Regions from separate parts of the Homo sapiens genome. Here all the other regions are linked to region 1. Evidence: promoter capture Hi-C in 16 types of primary human blood cells and fetal thymus (Javierre and others, 2016). All regions are on one chromosome and are shown on one strand. Each heading gives the region's core, a stretch centred on a gene start or on the middle of the fragment in contact. The rest is flanking DNA. Distances are from core to core; before and after follow the strand shown.

Region 1 (2,866 bases), core at 238-2,737:
AGCCCTGGGTAAATTGAACAACAGCTTACACTTGGAGGGGTATAATCATTCTAATCAATGTGTCCCCTTTTACTATAATACATTGGAGTTGCAGCTAATGCTCTGCTCCCATTCAGCCTATGATGAGATTCTCTTTCAGCCCTATTGGGTTCTTGGCCTCATGTGACTACTCCAAAGACCCTAGTCCAAAAGGTCTTTCCTGTTTGCTATGGCCTTGAGGAATGTGGCCCTAGATCCACCGCTTTAAAGCTGGAGTTCCACCAGCAGCAACATCCTCTCATTCTGGGGCACCTGCCTGGGGCAGGTCATCCTGCCTCTGCCAACTCAGTGCTATTAGTTAACTCTCACCTGCCATATTCCAGCTGGAATCATCTCCCCTTCTCCACCCCAGACTAGGTCATGTTCCGCCATCATGGAAGCGCCTATTCTTCATACCCCTTATCACAGCTGCAACTACTCATTTACTTGTCTGACAATTTGATTTATGTCCACCTACTTTGCTAGGTACTAAGTTCAATGCTGGCAGTCGTTTCTTCTTTTTTTTTCTTTTCTGTTTTGCTCACCGATTTCTCGTTAGCACTTAGCACAGTGTCTGGCACACGATAGATGCTCCGTCAACTTCTCAGTTGGATACCAGCATCCCGAAGGGAACATGGATTAAGGCAGCTATAAGCACGGTGTAAAAACAGGAATAAGAAAAAGTTGAGGTTTGTTTCACAGTGGAATGTAAAGGGTTGCAAGGAGGTGCATCGGCCCCTGTGGACAGGACGCATGACTGCTACACACGTGTTCACCCCACCCTCTGGCACAGGGTGCACATACAGTAGGGGCAGAAATGAACCTCAAGTGCTTAACACAATTTTTAAAAAATATATAGTCAAGTGAAAGTATGAAAATGAGTTGAGGAAAGGCGAGTACGTGGGTCAAAGCTGGGTCTGAGGAAAGGCTCACATTTTGAGATCCCGACTCAATCCATGTCCCTTAAAGGGCACAGGGTGTCTCCACAGGGCCGCCCAAAATCTGGTGAGAGAGGGCGTAGACGCCTCACCTTCTGCCTCTACGGGTCACAAAAGCCTGGGTCACCCTGGTTGCCACTGTTCCTAGTTCAAAGTCTTCTTCTGTCTAATCCTTCACCCCTATTCTCGCCTTCCACTCCACCTCCCGCTCAGTCAGACTGCGCTACTTTGAACCGGACCAAACCAAACCAAACCAAACCAAACCAAACCAGACCAGACACCCCCTCCCGCGGAATCCCAGAGAGGCCGAACTGGGATAACCGGATGCATTTGATTTCCCACGCCACTGAGTGCACCTCTGCAGAAATGGGCGTTCTGGCCCTCGCGAGGCAGTGCGACCTGTCACCGCCCTTCAGCCTTCCCGCCCTCCACCAAGCCCGCGCACGCCCGGCCCGCGCGTCTGTCTTTCGACCCGGCACCCCGGCCGGTTCCCAGCAGCGCGCATGCGCGCGCTCCCAGGCCACTTGAAGAGAGAGGGCGGGGCCGAGGGGCTGAGCCCGCGGGGGGAGGGAACAGCGTTGATCACGTGACGTGGTTTCAGTGTTTACACCCGCAGCGGGCCGGGGGTTCGGCCTCAGTCAGGCGCTCAGCTCCGTTTCGGTTTCACTTCCGGTGGAGGGCCGCCTCTGAGCGGGCGGCGGGCCGACGGCGAGCGCGGGCGGCGGCGGTGACGGAGGCGCCGCTGCCAGGGGGCGTGCGGCAGCGCGGCGGCGGCGGCGGCGGCGGCGGCGGCGGAGGCGGCGGCGGCGGCGGCGGCGGCGGCGGCTGGGCCTCGAGCGCCCGCAGCCCACCTCTCGGGGGCGGGCTCCCGGCGCTAGCAGGGCTGAAGAGAAGATGGAGGAGCTGGTGGTGGAAGTGCGGGGCTCCAATGGCGCTTTCTACAAGGTACTTGGCTCTAGGGCAGGCCCCATCTTCGCCCTTCCTTCCCTCCCTTTTCTTCTTGGTGTCGGCGGGAGGCAGGCCCGGGGCCCTCTTCCCGAGCACCGCGCCTGGGTGCCAGGGCACGCTCGGCGGGATGTTGTTGGGAGGGAAGGACTGGACTTGGGGCCTGTTGGAAGCCCCTCTCCGACTCCGAGAGGCCCTAGCGCCTATCGAAATGAGAGACCAGCGAGGAGAGGGTTCTCTTTCGGCGCCGAGCCCCGCCGGGGTGAGCTGGGGATGGGCGAGGGCCGGCGGCAGGTACTAGAGCCGGGCGGGAAGGGCCGAAATCGGCGCTAAGTGACGGCGATGGCTTATTCCCCCTTTCCTAAACATCATCTCCCAGCGGGATCCGGGCCTGTCGTGTGGGTAGTTGTGGAGGAGCGGGGGGCGCTTCAGCCGGGCCGCCTCCTGCAGCGCCAAGAGGGCTTCAGGTCTCCTTTGGCTTCTCTTTTCCGGTCTAGCATTGGGACTTCGGAGAGCTCCACTGTTCTGGGCGAGGGCTGTGAAGAAAGAGTAGTAAGAAGCGGTAGTCGGCACCAAATCACAATGGCAACTGATTTTTAGTGGCTTCTCTTTGTGGATTTCGGAGGAGATTTTAGATCCAAAAGTTTCAGGAAGACCCTAACATGGCCCAGCAGTGCATTGAAGAAGTTGATCATCGTGAATATTCGCGTCCCCCTTTTTGTTAAACGGGGTAAATTCAGGAATGCACATGCTTCAGCGTCTAAAACCATTAGCAGCGCTGCTACTTAAAAATTGTGTGTGTGTGTTTAAGTTTCCAAAGACCTAAATATATGCCATGAAACTTCAGGTAATTAACTGAGAGTATATTATTACTAGGGCATTTTTTTTTTAACTGAGCGAAAATATTTTTGTGCCCCTAAGAACTTGACCACATTTCCTTTGAATTTGTGGTGTTGCAGTGGACT
Region 2 (2,866 bases), core at 221-2,720, 1.7 Mb after region 1:
TCAGTTAATCAAAAGCCAGGCATTACATGGGGGATTATTTGAATAGTACCTCCTAATCATAGTAATTTGTCACTCATCACACTGCAATGATTATTATTTACCAACCACTAGGAGACTCGCCAAAAACTTCATCATCTCCTGCCAGTTCTACCACAATATCTTGGAAGGGGATTCCTTACTGGGGAATTTCAAATGATGATATTTGCGTGTTAACATAATCATCAGATCCTGTCTTGGGCCCAGTGGTTGTTAGTAGAGATAAGAACGGTAAAGCTGTAAACAGGGCCAACTGAGGCCAAGTATTGGGGACTATGGGCACATTTGGGCACAGCAACGAGAGAAGGAAACCCCTGGTCTCAACTGAGATTTTGGCTATTTTGGCCACTGCCTTCCACCCATACTGAGGAGGACAACACCACTTTCGGAAGCCTGAAGGTTGCAGGTCACATGAAAAACTTCCTGTAGTCAGCATCCTATGGGGTGATTCCTACCCAGGGCCTTAAATGCACAGAATCTGGTTTCTCACATCTAAAGGAGCAAATGTGTATGACAACTCCTAGGTGTAGAGTGATCTGTGTTCTGTGTTGTTATGGTTTGAGAATTAATGTATTGCTTCTGCAGCACCTTCAATAGAAATGACTGTGACAAAATAATGTGTCTGCTTCTATTTCAGTGGCAAAGAGTAATCACATGACCCTTCCTAACTTCAAAAGGACTGTGATGTTCCCCTGTGTTCAGGAAGGAAAGGAGGACAAGACATAGATGAGCACTTGTAGTATCTCCCATAAACTGTTTTGCAGATGTCCAACATAAAGCAACTACAATTAATCCTTGAACAACATGGGAGTTAGGGGCACTGACCCTCCATGCAGTCAAAAATCCACCTATAACTTTTGCCTCCCCCAAAACTTAACTAATAAGCTATTGTCGACTGGAAGCCTTATTGATGATGTAAACAGTTGATTAACAGATATTTTTGTGTATTATGTGTATAATATGCTGTATTCTAACAATAAACTATAAAAAAAATTAAGAAAATCATAAGGAGGAGAAAATATATTTACTATTCATTAAGTGGAAGTAAATCATCATGAAGATATGCGTCATTATCATCTTCACATTGAGTAGGCTGAGGAAAAGGAAGAGGAGGGGTTAGTCTTGCTGTCTCAGGGCTGGCAGAGGAGGAAGAGGTAGGAGGGGAAGCAGGAGAGGCAGGCATACTCAGTGTAATTGAATGAAAATACGTTGTAATTTTCTTTTTCTTATATCTAAAAGTTTCTATATGGTACCAATCCTTCTTCCACTGTTTGTTTTAGTTTCAGTGCCCACATCATAGAAGGGTCCATGTCGTAAAAGGAGTCAAAAGCAGTCTTAAAAAATTGGAACCCTTCTGCCAGATTGTCTAGTGTTAGTTTTTTTTCCTGGCACCGTTTCTTATACATCTTTTTCCTCATGATCTGTCACTGGTTTGGAAACACTCATCTCCATCAAGTCACCTTCTGTTATTTCCTCTGGCATGGTGTCTATTAGCTCTTGAATTTTTTCAAGATTCATATCTTGAAATCTTTTACATTCCATCTTTTGGACCATATCCACAACCTCTTTCATTGTTTCCTTATTTGTCTCTGTCGTAAATCCTGTGAAGTCATGCACAACATCTGGACATAATTTTCTCCAGCAGAAATTTATTGTTTAAAGTTTGATGGCTTTCACAGATTTTCTATAACAATAATGGCACCTTCAATGGTAAAATCCTTCCAGACTTTCATAATTTTCTCTCTATGGGGTTTCTCTTCCATAGCGTTGACAATCCTTTCCATAGAGTACCATGTGTAGTGAGCCTTAGAAGTCCTTATCCTGATTTAGAGGCTGAATTAGAGACCTTGTGTTTGGGGATAACTTCGATCATTTCAGCACCCTCAATGTTGAACTCATTGGGTTCTGGGTGGCCAGGGACATTGTCTAATAGCAAAAGAACTTTAAAAGGCAGTCACTTACTGCCAAGGTACCTCCTGTCTCCAGGGACAAAGCATCGATAGAACCAATCCAGAATAAGTGTTCTAATTGTCCAGGCTTTCTTGTTGTACAACCCAAAGACTAGAAGCTGATATTTTATCTTTCCCTTTCAAGGTTTGAGGGTTAGCAGCTTTATAGATAAGGACAGTCCTGATCACAAACTTGACTGCATTTGCATAAAACAATAGAGTTAGCCTATTGCTTTGTGCCTTAAATCCTGGTGCTTCCTTCTCTTCCTCACTAATTAATGTCCTTTGTGGCATTTTTCCCCCGGAGTAGGGTATTTTCATCTGCATTAAAAACCTGTACAGGCAGATATGTTTTCTTCTCAATAATTTTCTTAATGACGTCTGGGAACTTGTCTGCTACCTCTTGGTTAGTAGAAGCTGCTTTTCCTGTTATCTTGACATTTTTCAAGCCAAATCTCTTTCTAAGATTATCAAACCACTGCCTCTATCCCAGTGGGTATATATATATGGATATATATATATATATATATATACCTGTGCTTTGCCCAAACTTGCCCATACTCCCCAATATCTGGCCTCAGTTGGCCCAGTTTATATATAATGTGTATACATATATATATTTCATTTTATTATGTATATATTTAAATATATATGTATATACATAATAAAATTATTGAACCATCCTTTGCTGGCATTATATTCTCCAGCTTTATATTCTACACGGATCTTTTGCGTTAAGTTATCATATAATAACTTGGATTTTTCTGGATTCATATTAGAATCTATAGGTATGCCTTTCTTGTGGCAATTCTGCACCACATAAAGGCTGCATTTGCCATATGGGATAAAAAGGTGTTTCACAAAATGTGCAAGGTTTTCAC
Region 3 (2,866 bases), core at 165-2,664, 1.7 Mb after region 1:
ACAGAGGTTTAGCACGCCTGGATGAAGACAAGAGCAACAATTTACTATCTTTAAAATTAGATAAATTAGATTTCAAAGCCGAAAGTATTAAAATGCTAAAAGGACTAATAAGGAAAACCTAAATAACAAAAACCTAACATGACCATGGAATATGGAAATAATTTTACAATTTTTCTTTTTTAAGGATACACAGAAATATTTTAATTGTGGGCTTCCTCATGCTACTCTTAAATCATGACAGATAAAACAGACAAAGTTCCTAAGGAAAATACGGAAATGAACACAAGAGTAGATTTAAAAAACAGCAAGGTTATATGAAGAGAATTAAGTAGCAGAACGAGAAAATTTAAAAAACAGCAAGCTTATATGAAGATAATTACGTAGCAGAACAAGAAAACATACTTGCTTTACATATATATAGTTTTTCCAGGGAGAAAAAAAGGATCATGGGGCAGCAATACACAATAAACACACATCTAATTTACAATTGTTAAAAATATTTGAGTGCCTGAAATGTGTGAGATACATAAAAAGGAGCAACAATGCGTTCGCTCAAGATGCTCAGACTAATAGGAACAGAGGGAGATGATGTATCAACAAGTAACTACATATGGTAAACTAGGGGACTTGGAAGATTAATTTCCCTGAGAGAGATGGGAAGAGAAGTGGAATCTGGGCAACAAGTTGGGAATAAGGAATTCCAGACAAAGGGAATAAGATGTTTTCCAATTTTTTAAAAATTATTTTTATTTATTATGGATACAAAACAGTTGTGCCTATTTATGGGGTACACGTGATACTGTGATGCAAGCATACAATGTGTAATGATCAAATCAGAGTAACTGGGATATCCATCACCTCAAGCACTGATCACTTACTTGTGTTAGGCACATTTCAATTCCACTCTTTTAGTTATTTGCAAATATACATTATTAACTATATTTGCCCTCTTGTGCTACCAAACACTAGATTTATTATTTCTATCTAACTGTATTATTGTACCCATTGCTCATCCCCTCTTTATCCTCCCCTCTCCAATTCCAGCAGACTGGAACACACAGAATACTTTCTATAAATCGTGGTGGGTAGGGTGCTGCAGAGACAGGAGAAAGGGTACTGGGGGGAATAAGCCAGAAGTTGGCTGTGGTAACATGGTAGGGGAATGTGAATATCAAGGTAAAGTCCTTGGAATTTATTAATAGGTAATATGGGGCCACTGCAGATTTTCTCAACAAGAGTGACAGAAGATACATATGAGTGTGTAAGGTAGATTGTAATCAGTAGAGACCAGAGGTAGACATTTTATACAATTCATAAAAACACTGACAAAAAATGGATCATTTTCAATACTGATTTGTTAAGCAGTTTAGTAGAGTTACTAAAATACAATTGAAACATAAAAATACCTGGGCAGCTGCCAAAACAAAACTCAAGAGAAAATGTGTTCATTTAAAATGTTTAAGTAAAAGTAGAAAACAAAGAAAAAAAAAAAGAGGCAAAAGAAAACTAGTAAACTGAGTTTCTAAGAAATTTGGGGAAAAAGCCAAAACATGAAAATAATAAAACTAAAAGTAGAAATATAGATATAAAAATGAAACTGATCAGTAATCCCAACAGCTAGCTTTTTAAAAAAATTAAACTACAAAGTTGATCAAGTAAAACAAAGTAATACAATCAGTAAGTTCAAAAGATGTAATTCATACACACTCCTAGTTGGGGAAAGAAAGAATAGTATCTTAACTATATCAATATATTTGCAAGCAAAGTCTAAAAGGTGACTGCATAGCCAAAAGGAAATATCAAGCCTGATTTGCAAAAGAATACACAATAATATGCAATAATACAGTGATAAGAAAATGTATTTACAAAAATAACTTATGGTCATAGCCTAAACTACTTTGAGTTACTTTTCAAGAAACATTCAGACCAGATTCCAAGTATAAAAATAGACTGCTTAATTCTCCACAAACCTGGGAGAAATGGGAGGTTCTGGTTTAACATTAATCACTACTTCTTAAAATTCACTTTTCCAGTTACACCTTTAGAATGGATTTATTCCACTCTCATTTGAATCTGTAGTGTTAGTATACGATGAATCACTAAGTAGTGCTACCTGGGCCAAAGCTAGTATCCTCTCTGAAATTTACATGGAGCTTTCTGCTCAGGCTCAAATTCCCTCTCTCCACTTTGCAGGGTTGGGAGAATAGGGAGGGAGAAAAGGAAGAAGGGAGGGAGAGAGAGAATATACTTAGCAAAGGAATGATGACTCTGAATGTAAAAGTTCTAGTATCTGTTTTCTGCATATCATAAGAATGCAGCTGGACTCTTTTTAGACCTATCAGTTTTTTTCCAGTGGAAGCTGCTGGCTTCACTGGAGCACATACACGCGCATTAACACATGCCTGCATGCACGTACACACGCACAAGCACATACACACACACAAACTTTGGATGGCACATCCCAGTCTAAAGCTTGACAGAATGGCTCCAAATGACAACCTGACATACTCACAAACTATCAAGGGAACTGCCCCTCTTACACCTTATTAACCAAATTTAAAGTCTTTTAGTGGAGACTTTAGCTGGTTTTATTAAGATAAAAAATGTTTAAGAGCATTTAACCAGTAGATACAAAAAAGCACAAAAGCCAAATAAAAGCAGAGCCCAGGCCAGTAGGAAGATCTGCATTTAAGTTCCTCAACTGCCATTCATCAGCGGTGTGGTCTTGGGTGAGTTATTTTCCCCCAGGTCTGTCTCCTCATCTGATTCCTCATATACTGATTCATTAAGACAAGGGTATGTGAAAGCACTGTGTAAATGATACATTTTACCCATTCTAGCTTTAGCAGTATTATGAAAGACAAAA
Region 4 (2,866 bases), core at 367-2,866, 1.6 Mb after region 1:
AAGCATCCAGGTGCAGCCTCAGAGCCAGTTCAAGCCACTTCACCATCAGGAGCCCAGAAACACAAAATTAGAAAACAAACAGATGGATGCATTGCTTTCCAAACTCTCAGTGAAACAGGAATCAAATACATTTGAGGAATGTACACCTCTCACCAACCAAACTCTTGTTGTGCAAACTCAGGGGCCAAGTAAGTTTGGATAGCAAGGGATATCTGTATGCAGTGGTTTTGTTCTGTGTTTGCTTTAAACAATACTCTACAGCAGAGGCTCTCAAACTTCTGATGAATCAGAATCACCTGGTGTGCTTTTTTTTTTTTTTTTTAAGAAATGTCGGTTGTCAGGTCAAGTTCCACCTCCAGCTTCCAATTGTGTAAATCTGAGTGGGCCAAGACTTTGCATTTCCAACAAGCCCTCCCAGAAATTCTAAGGCAGGTAGTCCAGGATGCACACTTTGAAAACACTGCCATCTTCCATCCGCTATAGCTTGCCTGCCACAGCATTCATGTGGTAAGAGAAGGGCAGGGTTCTGTGTGGAATATTCCAGAAAGAGCATTAGTCAATGTGTATTCTGCTCTCCAGGGAGAAAGGGTGACTGATGAGTCAGTGTGAGGATTCTAATTGTGTGGTTGCTCCGCCCCTAAATCATGGCAAAGGAATGCCGGACATCACAGCTGGGTGGCACTGGCCATGATGGTGTCCCAGTTCCCTCTGCACCAAGGGCCTGTTCACCAAGCCACCCCCTGAGAGTGACAGCTAGCCAGGATGGGCTTTCCCACAGAGGGAACCTGCAAGTACCAGCAAACCAAGCATTCTGGGCTGCTCGGGAGTTGCCCATCACTCTACAATTAATGAGCTGTCACCTGAACAGTATCCCCTGGGTTAGGAACGGTCACCCAGGCTGGTTCCCCACCTCTGTGTCCACACACAACAAGTCACCAACTCTCTGGACATTCCCTTCTTTAGAAAGTAAGACACTGGTTGGGAGAGTCCTGATCCAGGCAACACTGCCTGTGTCCTAAATACCTATAGGACACCTCCACCCCAGCACTTTGCCTGATAACTCACACAAAGAAAGCTCTTAATAAGACATTATAGGTGGAGTTGTGTCTACTGAGAAGAGTGGTTTCACCTACGACACTATGTCATCAGTGTCCAATACATCCCCAAACTATGTCCTTGATACCTGAAAGTCCACAGGAATTGGACCATACGGCACACTGATGTTTAAGGCTTGGACGTCTTCCCGTTGCCTGATGTCCATCCAGGGGTTGTAGGCCACAGGGGGTAGGCCATCAGGGACCTCGGGATCGGGGGCCAGGGTGATGTTCTCCAAGGGATACAACTTCTGAAATTCCTTGGGGAAAAACACAAAGCCACAAAGTTGTCACTCTTTTAGCAAAAGCACAAGCTTGTGGCTCTATCACTGTCTATACTGCCTTTTCTCTAAGCCTGGGATGCATTTGAGTGGTGGCTCACTAGCATTCCCCACGTGCTCGGCCCTGACCTGGAAGTCCAGCCTTAAGTTACTCTCATGAGATGCCAATGGCAATGAAATCATACGACTTCTGTTTCCTACAAACTGAGCAGCAACAACTCTCTTCCTTCATACAAACAGACGCCCTTCTGTTCCTGTCCCCACCTCCTGCCTGGCTAGAAAAGTGTGGTGAGGTGTTGGGTTCCCAAAACCACCCTCAGGTTCAGCAATTCACTAGGGGAACTCATAGGATTCAGCATTTAGTCTCACTCACAGCTATGACTTATTACAGTGAAACACACTCAGCAAAGAAAAAAGGCACATGAGGCAAAGTCTAGAGGAAACTAGGCACAAGCTTCAAGTCCTCTTCCAGGGAAGTCACATAGGATACTTACTTCTCCCAGCAACGAGTTGTGTGACAATACATGTGAAATGCTGCTAACTAGGGAAGCTCATTAAAGCCTCATTATCCAGTTTTTATTTGGGGCTGGTCAGGTAGGTACTATCTGTCTGGAACATATCAAAATTCCAGGCTCCCAGAAAAAAAAAAACAAACCCAGGGGTTTATCATCAACCATAATGTTTGTCTAAACGGTTTAAGCATAGTAAGCCAATTCTGGGAATAGTGAGAACACTTCAGAAATCAAAGTTCCCAGATGCCAGCCAAGGGCTAGACTTATAAGCAGGCCTTTCAAAGAATCACAGCCAGGCCAGCTTTGTTAACTGTTTTCTGCAAAGAGGCAGGAGAGGTGAACCTCACAGCCTTCTTCTATCAAGGGGGCTGACAGCTCCTACTAGGAAAGCAAGATCCCCTGGGCCAATCAAAGCAAGATACCTGCAACATCAAAGAGCATACTGCTGGTCTCTACTCTCATTACATGTGAGGGGCATTCTCTGCAAAGTCAAAAGGATGGGATGCTCAGGCCCTCATAAAACATGATAGGGAAAAATGGAAAAGGATTCTAAAACAGAAAAGACTACATGCTCTAAATGACATACAAGCAAGTACAGGATTTGAGGTTCCAAGAAGCAATGCAGTGCTTTGTGTTTAGATGATCTAACCTGACAGGCTCAGGGGGAACAGGCAGTTTTTGAAGAGAGTTTCACATTCCCTGGGGCTGTTTTGGAAGGGCCATCCCTTATTACAGGCTTTGGCAGCCAGCTCTGATTCACTACTCTGTGGTGATCTCACCATCCAACCCAACATCTGCTCAATAAGTTCAAGGAAAGGAAATCAAACCCTCCAGTGGAGTGAAGCGGAAAGCCAAGCATTTCTTACAAGATTCTTACATGTTCTTGGCCTTGACCTCTAAATCCCATCTTTACTCCACTGAGGACACTAGTGCCCATCAGGCAACCATGGTGCCTGGCGATGGCAGGATGTAGCCACCT
Region 5 (2,866 bases), core at 97-2,596, 1.6 Mb after region 1:
TGTTAGAGAATCTTTACTTTGCCATTTGACACCAATAAAGAATCTCTAAAGAGCTCTCCTAGATAAGATGAATGAACATAATTTGTAATGGAAAATAGGCAGTTAATTTTCATCCTTGACTATCCAGCAGTCTTGAAGTGAAGTTAATTTGCCTATTGTTCTGACCCATTCTAGAGCCTTCTGAAAGCAAAAATCTACATTGCTCCCCAAGAATCCTAGGAGGTTACTCAAAGGACCAATGGTTGGTATTGGGGGAGTGTGAGCTCAGGACTACTGAGAGACTACTAATCTGCCCTTCCTGACTGAGGAGGACAGCTGCACCTCAGATGACCTCAACAATAACACAAACTTGTTAAGAGAGCAAAAGCCAGGAAGGATTAACAGGGAATAAGAAGGAGTAAGAAACGGCGACAAGTAACTCAGTCTGTCAAGGAGATGAAACTAAGGGTTAAGGAATCGTCAAGAGGTGAGAAGGGGCAGTTATTATCCTAGTTTCTCCTGCTTTGCAATGTCTGTAACAGTCTCTCTCTCCTTCCTTCCTCCAGACACCCCATGCACTGGAATACTCTATGTAACAGACTTACTTAAGGCTTGGGGATAGTGGAGGGGAATTACTGCACAGAACAGAAAAGGGAACAATGCAGAATTGAAGATTAGACATCTCAAAGTTCCTTGGTTTCCCTACCACAATGTTTGTCCTTGGGTATCTTTCTTCTTAGACTCCAATCTCCTCTCTTGTTGCTTGTGTCTGTTCTCTCTATAGAAATCATTTTCCTACCTCTCCTCTTGTACAAATTTCAGAGCCCCATCTCATCCACTCTCTATGACATTTGTCAGCAAACTTTTTCTGTAAAGGGCAAAACAGTAAATATTTTATGTTTTGCACACCATAAGATCTTTGTCATCACTGCTGAACTCTGCTTTTATGGAGCAAAAGCAGCCAAAGATAATGCATAAATGAATCGACATGGCTGTGTTCCAATAAAGCCTCATTTACAAAAGCAAGTGGTGGGCTACATTTGGCCCTTGGGCCATAGTTTACCATCCCGTGCTCCAGCAGAAAATTGAAAATTGAAAATTCTCCTCAAGTTCTTCAGTTCCTTTATTACACATGGTGATTGAACTCTTCTTTATCTCAACTCCTCTCATTACGTTCTTCCTTCTGGGGCCTCCCTGTGTGTACTAAAGGGGAGTATAAAAAGCTTTCCTAGACCAAAGATCCTTTTATTTTTTGTTGAGGCACCTTCATTCCTTAGTGTGTTGGTCAGCTTTTCTGCAGTAACAAACAACCCCAGAATCTCAGTGGCTTACAAAGGAAACATTTATTTCTCATATACAGTATAGGTCACTGGTTTGGGTCAATTCTGCTCCATGTGTCTTCTCATTCCAGAACCCAGCCTGAATGATGCAATCTCCCTTTGGGAGATGATGTTCTTATTTCTGGCAGAAGGAAAGAGAAAGAATGCTGGCAGAAATTCACAATGGCTCTTAAAGCTTCTACTGGGATGTAGTCGGTTATATCCACTCACATTCTTTAGCTAAAGGAATGGACATGGCAGGTTAAAACTCCATGGGACAGGAGTTTATGGTCCTTCCATATGGGGAGGAGTTTACTGCAGGTAACATGACAATCACAGATGATGTTTCATCCCCTTACAGGTAATTAAGAAGAGAGAATAAATAATACACTCTACCAGAGGTGTGGTAGAGTGTATTATTCTCTCTTCTTAATTACCTGTAAGGGGATGAAATGCAGAAGTTGTTTCACTTGTTCCATTTATAAAGTAGCTTTTTTTTTAATATAATGCGGCACTGAGGAAAAACTCTTGTCGCCCTCATTACACCCAGTGCTTTCTGAAGCCTTTATCAGCAGCACATTTACAGGTCCTGTGAGAGGATGGGACACTTCTGCAGATGGCTCAGTTCCTCCAACATGCGTTGATTCTTATGAGCTCTACTTACAGAAAGAGATCTTATCTCTGATTGGGAGACTCTGATATACTGATGAAATCAGCCAAACCTCATTTACGTATATTCTATGATTTTGGAACTTGTGATATAAGATACAGCCTAGCCTGGAATTTACCTTTGGAGTCTATGCCATTAAGGCTATTCACTAAATATTTCTGGTACTCCTTCTGGGAACCTGATCTCCAGAAGTTAAGTATGGATAACCGCATGACCATGTCACTCTCTGCCAGAAAATTGAAAAGGCAGCACATAATTCTCCATGTTCCTTGTTCCCACCATGGTGATTGTGAAAGCAAATTTTGACAAGAGGGCCTCTACCAGCCTGAATTCCTGAATGAGTGTGAGGAATGAAGCCCCCTGCTGATCTGCTTTGGAGAAATCATGTGAATAAGAAGTAGAACTTTGTCATGTTACACCACTAAGATGTGTGGGGTTGTTTGTTACCACAGCATAATGTAACTGATACCGACTAATAGACTATGATGAAAGAGTTTCCCACTGAAATTAGTAGTGTAAACATAATTTCAGGGGTCAGACAATCTACTTAAGAAAGTACTTTTCCTCAAGTGCTTTAAAAGCACCTATTTACTTATGAATAATTGCCATATTGATAAAAAATCATTCTTTTCTCTTCATTAAGGCACTTAGGTTCCTAAAGATACTTTCTCAATGTAGTATGAGTCATAGTATGAATTTAGTTTACAGTATTCAGTAATTCATTATGGATTTCAAGAAAGGTTTTCTGCCATATCTCTTTAATTTTTTAATCAAATATTTATTGAGCACCTACTAGGTGTTCTACATGTTCTAGGTACTCTGCTAGATGTTGGGGAATTATTAATAAACAAGAAATATATGGTCCTTTCCTTCAGGGAGCTGGGAAACGTTCTGAAGG

What was found. Contacts are between HindIII fragments. The CHiCAGO score rates a contact against its expected background, and 5 or more counts as called.
Region 2: a fragment that was not itself captured here is called in contact with the fragment with the promoter of FMR1-AS1 in region 1 in 2 of 17 cell types (total B cells and activated CD4 T cells); the score reaches 6.8 in total B cells.
Region 3: a fragment that was not itself captured here is called in contact with the fragment with the promoter of FMR1-AS1 in region 1 in 3 of 17 cell types (total CD4 T cells, non-activated CD4 T cells and total CD8 T cells); the score reaches 8.7 in total CD4 T cells.
Region 4: a fragment that was not itself captured here is called in contact with the fragment with the promoter of FMR1-AS1 in region 1 in 9 of 17 cell types (activated CD4 T cells, non-activated CD4 T cells, naive B cells and 6 more); the score reaches 15.5 in activated CD4 T cells.
Region 5: a fragment that was not itself captured here is called in contact with the fragment with the promoter of FMR1-AS1 in region 1 in 1 of 17 cell types (M0 macrophages); the score reaches 9.6 in M0 macrophages.

What each region holds. Positions count from the first base shown.
Region 1 is chrX:147,910,330-147,913,195 of GRCh38, forward strand. FMR1-AS1 (FMR1 antisense RNA 1) reads right to left here and starts at 1,488. Exons shown (of 2, transcript NR_024503.3): 1 at 1,313-1,488; 2 at 1-666. FMR1 (fragile X messenger ribonucleoprotein 1) reads left to right here and starts at 1,590. Exons shown (of 17, transcript NM_002024.6): 1 at 1,590-1,901. The coding sequence starts at 1,851. RefSeq lists enhancers at 1,121-1,330, 1,911-2,010 and a silencer at 1,411-1,750. The HindIII fragment of the contact is 5,224 bases long and covers 1-2,866 here.
Region 2 is chrX:149,640,464-149,643,329 of GRCh38, forward strand. No RefSeq gene overlaps it. Among named protein-coding and RNA genes, the nearest start is that of TMEM185A, 10 kb to the left of the region's middle. The HindIII fragment of the contact is 5,543 bases long and covers 1-2,866 here.
Region 3 is chrX:149,622,141-149,625,006 of GRCh38, forward strand. All of the region lies in intron 1 of TMEM185A (transmembrane protein 185A), which reads right to left. Among named protein-coding and RNA genes, the nearest start is that of TMEM185A, 8.2 kb to the right of the region's middle. The HindIII fragment of the contact is 2,111 bases long and covers 360-2,470 here.
Region 4 is chrX:149,495,163-149,498,028 of GRCh38, forward strand. It overlaps IDS (iduronate 2-sulfatase), which reads right to left. Exons shown (of 9, transcript NM_000202.8): 6 at 1,184-1,354. Among named protein-coding and RNA genes, the nearest start is that of IDS, 8.7 kb to the right of the region's middle. The HindIII fragment of the contact is 421 bases long and covers 1,407-1,827 here.
Region 5 is chrX:149,461,635-149,464,500 of GRCh38, forward strand. No RefSeq gene overlaps it. Among named protein-coding and RNA genes, the nearest start is that of IDS, 42 kb to the right of the region's middle. The HindIII fragment of the contact is 292 bases long and covers 1,201-1,492 here.